2 separate regions of the Homo sapiens genome follow, and region 2 is linked to region 1. Evidence: promoter capture Hi-C in human tissues and cell types (Jung and others, 2019). All regions are on one chromosome and are shown on one strand. The core of a region is centred on a gene start or on the middle of the fragment in contact, and the rest is flanking DNA. Distances in the headings are between cores, read along the strand shown. Region 1 holds the start of CYB5R2 (cytochrome b5 reductase 2). Region 2 has its middle 27 kb from the start of RBMXL2.

What was found. The method cuts DNA at HindIII sites, captures the fragments that hold promoters and counts their contacts. A contact is called where the count stands out against the background at its distance.
Region 2: a fragment that was not itself captured here is called in contact with the fragment with the promoter of CYB5R2 in region 1 in 1 of the 25 tissues and cell types used here (H1 embryonic stem cells).

The regions. Positions count from the first base shown.
Region 1 is chr11:7,671,074-7,675,298 of GRCh38, reverse strand. It overlaps CYB5R2 (cytochrome b5 reductase 2), which reads left to right and starts at 1,799. Exons shown (of 9, transcript NM_016229.5): 1 at 1,799-1,880; 2 at 2,408-2,551; 3 at 2,776-2,848. The coding sequence starts at 2,474. RefSeq lists a silencer at 1,287-1,496 and enhancers at 2,017-2,116, 2,137-2,186. The HindIII fragment of the contact is 10,078 bases long and covers 1-4,225 here.
Region 2 is chr11:7,113,731-7,117,955 of GRCh38, reverse strand. No RefSeq gene overlaps it. Among named protein-coding and RNA genes, the nearest start is that of RBMXL2, 27 kb to the right of the region's middle. The HindIII fragment of the contact is 6,701 bases long and covers 1-4,225 here.

The sequences.
Region 1 (4,225 bases), core at 550-3,049:
CAGTAAGAAAAAGACAACAGAAAAATGAGCAAAATTTATGAGCAGGCATTTTTTTTTTTCTGAAAAGGAAACTCCATGGGAAATAAATATATGAAAGGTGCTCAAACTTATTAGCAGTTATTAGGTAATGCAAATTGGATTCCTGATACATCATTTTACACTTATCGCATTGTCAAAAATTAAAATATCTGCCTATAATAACCAAGCACCTGCAGGTAAATCAAAAGTAAAGGCATTTGATTAAGTCAAAGAGAGAAAATTAAGTTTGTTTATTCATTCACACAGCAAGAATTTTTGAGCCTGTGGTGGTGTGTGTCTTGGGGAGAAGGGTTGGTAAAGTGTTATGGGTTATTGTTTTCACCCTGATTCTTATGTTGAAGCCCTAAGCCCCAGTACCTAAGGATATGACCTTATTTGAAGGTAGAGCCTTTACATAGGTAATCAAGTTAAAACAAGGTCATTAGGATGGACCCTAATTGAATATGACTGGTGTCTTCATAAAAGGGGAAATTTGGACACAGGGACACACACAGAGGGATGAAAATGTGGAGACATAGGAAGAAGATGCCCCTTCTCCTAGCCCCTCTCCTACAAACCTAGGAGAGGCATGGAACAGATCCTTCCCTCACAGCCCTCAGAAGGAACCCACTCTGCCCACACCTTGATTTTGGACTTCCAGCCCCCAGACCTGCGAGACAATAAATTTTTGTTGTTTAAGCCGCTCAGTCTGCGGCACTTTGTTACAGCAGCCCTAGCAGAGTCAAACAGGTGGGGATCTGCTTCTGGGCTTCTCTGTTTCACACAGGTCCTGAGGCAAGAATTTGCCTTTGCCTGTAATCAAGGGCGAGCCGGGCAGCCAAGGTTCCGAAACGCACCGTGAAGACCCTCTAACTGTGCCTACTATTCTGCTCCCCTCCGATCGGCGCGGGGCTCTTGTCCTTCCTCTCTCCACCCAGCGAATGAATGAACGCAGGAGCGCTCGGAGTACACGTCTTCAACTCGGCGACGCCCCTGCTTCGGCCCCACCCCGCAAACACCCGCCCCGGACCAGGCCCAGGGTAGGCGCCCATGAGGTATGTCGAATGAATATATTCGCGCGCTCTTTGCAGCTGCCTGAATTCTTCCTTCCCCAGCATCCCCCTCCGCCCGGTCACCCAGACGGCCTTCTCCAGCCTTGCCGAGCTTAAGTAAGCTGAGGGGCGCTCAGTGTGGCAGCTCTGCGTGTGCAGGGAAGGGGCCAGGATGCAGAGGGGCAGCGCAGGAGCGAGGACGCCACGGCTCAGCGCCCCGCCAGCCTCATGATGGAGCGCTGCCCTGGGGGCAGGGCTGACCCAGAGCCAGCGGCTCGTGAGTGAGAGCCCCCCGACCACGGCCCTTCTCGGGGAGCGGGCCAGCCGCCGGGGTCCCAGCCTGCGGGGTCCGCCCGCGCTTTTGTCCTCCCGGGCGTGCGTGTCCGGGTCTCGGCCGGTTCCCCGTCGGCCAGGCGGAGCTGCGGGGCGACGCCACGAGTCTGCGGGCCCGCGGCGGGGAGCGGCCCCCGGCCAACCCCAGTTCGACGACGTGTTGGGCGTCTCACTCCGGGTGGGTTCCGCGGCGGGGTGTATTTATGGAGTATTGAAGAAATATCTCCGTCGGGACGGCCGGAAGGAAAGAGGCCAGAGGCGCGGAGGCCGGCTAGAGCCGGGAACGAACGTCCGACCGGGAGGTTGGGGGCCGGAGCGGGAGGCGTGGGGAGAGGTCGTGGGCGGGACCGCGAAGGGCGGGGAGTGGGGCGGGCCGGCTCGGATTCCGGAAGGCTGAGACTCCAGTGACCCGGCGGGAGGAGAGGCAACTTTCCCTGTCGGGCTTGAGTTGGGAGAGGAGCAGGGCGGCCTTGTAGGGTAGGGACAGATGCGGGGAGGCTCCCGAGTCTCTGGCAGTTGAGTGCCCAGGCCCCCTTCGCCCTGTCCAGGAGACTGTTGGGGAGTCCCCAGGCCCTAAGTCACGGGGCACCTCTTAGAGCTACGCACCCTAGTTCTGTCTTTAGGGACTGGGCCCCTCATTCCGGATTGTGTGTTAGGGGTGATGTCCTCCCCCTTCACCTCAAGGAAGGGACTTCCAGTGTATGAACCTTTGGCTGTAGCCAGGAGGGGCCTAGTGACCTGAGCACCCCAGGCCATGTGTGCTGCCTGCTCCAGGGGCCTGAAACATCCTTCCTGTGTGACCTGCAGCTGACCCCTCCCTACCCTCTGGTCCACGACAGGCTCTCCCAGCCGCCTTCTGTGTCACTACTGTTCTCTTTGCCTATTTCCTGCAGGCAGAGCTCAGCTCCTGTGCCTTTGGTGTGGGGAGGGTGTTCTGCGCCTGAGAGCTGCCCTGTCCAGGGCGGGCAAGACCTGAGGTGCTCTGTTCACATTGTGTCTGCCAGGACCCGTCCCTGCTCCTGACCATCACCGTCACTGGGGTCACTGTGCTCGTGTTGGTCCTGAAGAGCATGAACTCCAGGAGGAGAGAGCCAATCACCTTACAGGACCCTGAAGCCAAGTACCCGCTGCCCTTGATTGAGAAAGAGGTAATGGGTCAGCCCTGTGGGTGGAAGGCAGTAAGTGGATGATGGCTGGGATGGCAGGGCATCCAGACAGTCATCTCATGGCCTCCAGTTCACTCCCCGCCGCCCTGTGTGTGTGTGTGTGTGTGCTGGAATAGCGCCAAACGGACCTCCTTTCCCAGGCATCTCAGCTGCCCAGCAAGGCTTCTAGAAAGCTGACAGAACCTGCCTATGTTTTGTTTTATCAGAAAATCAGCCACAACACCCGGAGGTTCCGCTTTGGACTGCCTTCGCCGGACCATGTCTTAGGGCTTCCTGTAGGTGAGCCGGGCTTGGGTCATCACCAGGACTGGGGCCTCTGGGGGCTAGGCCCTCCTCTCTTAACAGAAACACAGGTTTCCCACGTCCTGAGGTGTGGAAGATGCCCTCTTGCTCCTCCTGAGCCTGTGAGCTCAGGGAGATAGATAGGGGGATGGATGTGGGACAGAAAATTTCTTTTCTTCATTATTCCAATTGGGCTGACACGAGAGTGGTACCTCAGTGAGCATTGAAAAGAACTGAACCTAGAGCCAAAAGGCCTAAAATCTCATGGAAGGCTCCTTGCTGGGGAACTTAAGGGAAGTCCTTCAATCTCTCTGAGCCTCAGTCTATGAAATGGGATTTCCCAGGCCTGCCTGTCTACCTCACTTGGGTTGTTGTGAAAGTAGAGTGACTGATGGATATGAAAATTCAGAAACTACAAAGTATTGTGCACCTGGGAGGGATGGGAGGAACCAGTGGTCGGGGAAAGGCCCAGAATGTGCGGGTAGGCAGGAATGAGTCAGGTGTGCCCTGCCCCCAAGGTCACTTAGATTCTCTGCAGGGGCCTCAGACCCACATAAGGAGGGACCAGCCCTACGAGTTGCAGATTCCAGCCCTAGGAGTCCTAGAGTTGAGTTATCCCATTTCTAATCTGTAACACCACTAGATAGCTGAGTCAGTCTTAGTGCAGTAGAAAACTGCTAGAATCAGGGATTCAGAGCAGCTTTGTATAATCTGCTAGTGCTGCTTGCCTGCCTGGTGGATCCTACTCCGTGGCCTATTTGTCTTATATGCACAGGCCAAAACCTTGACCTCAGCTCTATCAGGTGGTGAGATTACACTCTAGCCAGCTCGCTGGGCCCCTGAGCCTCCTTGCTGTTCCCTCACTCCATCTCTATGCACGAGAGCTCAGTGTTGTGCGTGCCGTCTCTCAGCTCCCTGCTCGGCCTGTCAGGCAGGTCCTGTTGGCAGGAAGCCTAAAAGAATGAAAAACTTTGAGATAGAGAATTGCTTAGAAACTGCCTTGACCCACTATCTCCTCAGCCTTGGCCTAGGCCGTGCAAAGTTAGTGGGACAAGGTAATGTAGAGGCCTCTGGGAGAGTCTAATATGAGGCCTCAGAGTTCGCTGCTTCGTCCCAGCCCAGTGGAAGTGAAGCAAGTTAGAGATGGGGCTTGAAGGACCAGCCAGGGAGCCCCATTTGCCCTGGGGACACCCTCAGGCCAGGCCTAGGTGGCTGCATATGAAAGAGCCTTTCCAGGTTTCCAGTTTCAGGTTCTCAGAAGGAAGCTAGGTGTCTCACTTACTCCTGGCTATCCCTGGTGCCCAGAGGGACCATGACCAGAGTCATTGAGCCTGTTCTGAGCCCAGAGTGTTGGCACCTCAAAGACTTGGCTCA
Region 2 (4,225 bases), core at 692-3,191, 560 kb after region 1:
TGAAGCCACACTAGTGTGTTAGTTCCTAATAGCCATTTTATGCCTTTCTGGGTGTTTGTTCAATGAACCTCTCAGGAAAGTAGGCTGATGCAGGGAGATTTTCCTTAAATCATACCAAGTGGCATCACTGTGCAAGACCAGGCTTGTGGGTTGAAGGGAAGAAACAAGAAGAACATGGTCTTCCAAAATCTCTTAATTTTCCCTGAAACAGGAGTTGCTCCTTTCTCCTTCTCTGATTGCTTTTTGGGGCTTGGGGCTTGAAAATGCCAGGCATTTCAGACTCCAAATTCATAAGAGGCAGTGAGGATTATAGAGATTATGGTTTACAGACCCAAAATTGGGACACTGTGGTATAATGACACAGAATATCTGAAAATGTGACTCTCTCAGAAAATTCTATAACCCTGTTTGCAATGTAAAAATTGAATAAGGATTCAGTTTTGGCTCTGGTATTGTCTATGAATTTTTAAAAATGTTATTCACTCTTTAAAAAAACCTTTGTTTTTTTTAATCGCCAGACATAATAAAATCTATTTCAAAGATAATTACAAGAATTAAATCCCCAAATTTCTATATAATGTGAGAATCCAGAGGCAATTCGCCTCCCTTGTACAAGTAGTATTGCATTAAATCTTCACAACAATCTATGTCTGCACTATTTTTTTTACTGCAACTGTACAGATAAGAGAACAGAGAAACAGAAAATGTAAGAAATTGATCCAAGGTCACACCACTATTAAGTTGCACAGCTGATTTGAACTTTGGCAGTCTGACTCCAGATCCTGCAATTATTCTATTTTGGGCAAAGTATAATACAACATTCTTTTTGGACCTAATGCAAATTACCAGCAGTTTTCAGCATGGTGAGCATGAGCATTTTTACAGCACAGCCTACATCTGACTGATCTTTGTATCCCTCCTCCACCCCATCCCAGGTCTTGCGCTTTGGCAGTTGCTCAGTATATTTCAGTTAAACAAATGAAAAAACAAAACTCTATGGCAAGTGGCAAACAGTTCTGAATGGAGAATGTAAACTTTAGTCAACAAAAAAATTATCAAAGGCACAAAACTTTAATAAATGGCCAAGATTTCCAAGCAAATTTTTATTTTACTTTTCTACTAAAAGGTCAGAATTCATCAATCTTAAAATCCCTGGTAAGACTGAAGTTCAAACGAAGGATGTCTGTAATTCCCTCTTTTTATCCCTTAAAAGCATATAGCCCATTATAATAAAATATTTGCTCTTGGGCTTCTTCTGTCTTATTACTCTAAAAAAAAAAAGAGATGAAGGAATTGACACTTTCTTTTTATGTAACTAAAAATATCATAATATTTTTATTTAGTTTTATTTTAATATAAATAAAATATTTATATATTTTATTTTAAAATATAATGTTTTTTTAAAAAATCATGATTTAAAATCATGATTTTATTTTAAAATATCATGATATTTTATTTAGAGTTAATAGGGTAACATAATGCAGTTGATGATTTCCTGTTATCAAATCTGGATTTGGGTCTGGAGAGACCGATACACCTTCTCAAGAACAATGTACAGCACCAATACAGCGGTGTTTCTTGCGATAATTAAATTTGTCATCATTCTGCCAGCCACCTGAGAACTCTGGTGATGTAGTGACATTTATCTTATTCTGAAGACAGTATGGAGAAAAAAAGTCAAAAGTAACTAATCCATGAACACAGTAGTATTTTACAACGTGAGTTACAGTCTAGAATAAATATCTAATGTCCAAAAAGCCCAGCTGGACAATAAGGAGACTAATTTTTGACCTCCTAAAAGTCAGTGTAGGAACTCAGAAATAGTTATTAGACTTGGAAAGCAGATTACTATGATATGTGATAGTTAAACTTCTTTTCTGTTTCCAGAATTATCTCTGTTTCCCAAGAGATTGCTTTTTTCAATATGTATACCTTAGTCATGCTACAGGCATTCCTTAAATATATAATGGCTCACAGTTGCCCATTCATATTTAAGAATAAGGGAGTAGTATTGACGAGCTCTGTGTAAATAAGTGGAATTTAGCAACTGGCAGGCTTCACATCTGTTCATATATACCAAATTATTGGCCCATGAGCCTAATCAGGACTCATGTAGTGATTTGAACTTTATAAATTAGATTGCAAATAATCTAAAACTGGGAAGTCTCACATAAAATTTATATTTCTGATTTCTTTTTAAAAATAACTGTAAATGTTCTAGCAATACTAGGCCCACATTGACAAATGTCAGCAGACCAGTTGGTAGCTATTCTGCTTGAAGCCCATTTTACACATGTGTATATGTGTGACCTATCTGCTTCTTATTGACATCAGAACTGAAAATATCTACTTGAGAGTAAGAAGGCAGGAGATGAAACTTTATGCTGGAGAATTCTTACATAGTAGGATGAAGACAACTTTATTCTGAAGTGCCACACCCGACTAGCTGCCCTTGCTCTCTCTGGACAGATCATTTGCTTGTCTGTTTTCTTTTATTCAATATAAAAACTAAACTCCAGGTGCAGGGAATGAAATCGATCATACTCCACAGGTCACTATTAGTCTGTGCAAGGCACTTCTCTTATTATAGTTTAGTCTATTTCTTTTTTCTCTTAATTTCCCATCCACCCTTTGTACTCTGTTCCATTGTTCTTTTGTCATTCTCACCTTACTTGGCTATGTAATCAGTCTTAAAGTCTGGCAGAATGAGCTTTCCTTTTGTTCTTTTCCTATTATCTCATATGGTTTGTATTCCATTTCCCTTCATGGGCACCCAGTTAAATGCATTCCATAAGGTCTTAAACATGTATGTATTCATGAAAAATGGGAACATTTTATATATACTTTAGTGTTGTTTTGCAATATGCATTTTAAATTTACCTAAAGGATATTTTATTGTAGATTTCACTCTCTTATTTTTCAATCAACATTGTTTTAATTATCTTCCCATATTGCTCTGTGTATAACACATTCATTGATTCTGAAAAGTAGGAGGATGAACAGATTTGGCAACACATTGTTTGCTGGCAGCACTAAGAATCTACTTGATATATATGACCATAAATTTAAAGTGATACCAGACAGCAGTGTTTTGAAAATTTCCCTAACCATATTTATCTCCCTTGGTATAGTTGTGAAGTGTGGAGAGTTAGATCTAACAGGGTTGGGGTTTTGCCAGGTGAAAATATCAGAGCAAGAGAGAGACAAAGGAGTTAATGAAGTGATTAAGTTGAACCATAAAATGTAACCTGGGTAGGAAAGAAGTGAAGACATGAAGAAAGGAAGGTTTTATGAAAAATGGTAGGTTTAAATGGATTCCTGGTTGCAATAAAGATGGTGCCTAAAAGATGAAGCATAAGGTGGTAGCTTCTTGTTTGAGAGCAAAAAGTAGGAGTAGAGGTAATGGAGGGATTGCATTAAAATGCAATGACTAGTTTTAAGGTATGACAATGGGCTTACAATTTAATGTCCCCCACCCAAAATGCAGTGACATGTATTCTTTTACATTTCTCTTCATTAAACCCATGGGAGAGTCTCTTCAGTTAAGTTCCAAGATCAGGGTTGCTGGATTATAGAATATACACCTTTTTTTTAGAGAGAGGGGGGTCTTACTCTCGCACTCAGGGTGGAGTGCAGTGGTGTGATCACAGCTCACTGCAGCCTCAACCTCTGAGGCTCAAGCAATTCTCCCACTTCAGCCTCCCTGGTAGCTGAGCCTACAGGTGCACAACACTACACCTGGCTATTCCTTTTCTTTTTAGTAGAGACAGGGTTTCGCCATGTTACCCAGGCTGGACTCAAACTCCTGGGCTCAGGCGATCCGCCTGTCTCAGCCTCTGGAAGTGTTGAGATTTCAGGCATGAGCCACCACGCCCAGCCTATACACCCTTTTAATTTCCCCATATGCTGCCAGATTTCTCTCCAGAATAACCGTACTAGTTTATATTCCCACCAGCAGAGCATGAAGGTTCTTGTTTACCACATTTAACCTTCTAATTTTTGTTAGTACGAGTTGGTATTTCATGGTTTTCATTTGTATTTCTCTATTTACAAGTGAAACTAAGCATCTCGTCATATACTTGTTATCCATTCAGTGTTTCCTTTCTGTAAATAGCTCTCCTTTGCCCATTTCTTTCTATTTACTTTGATTTATATAGAATTGTACATATATTACAGATATTAATCCCTTGTCAACTAATTTCATAATTTAACTATTTACCTATTG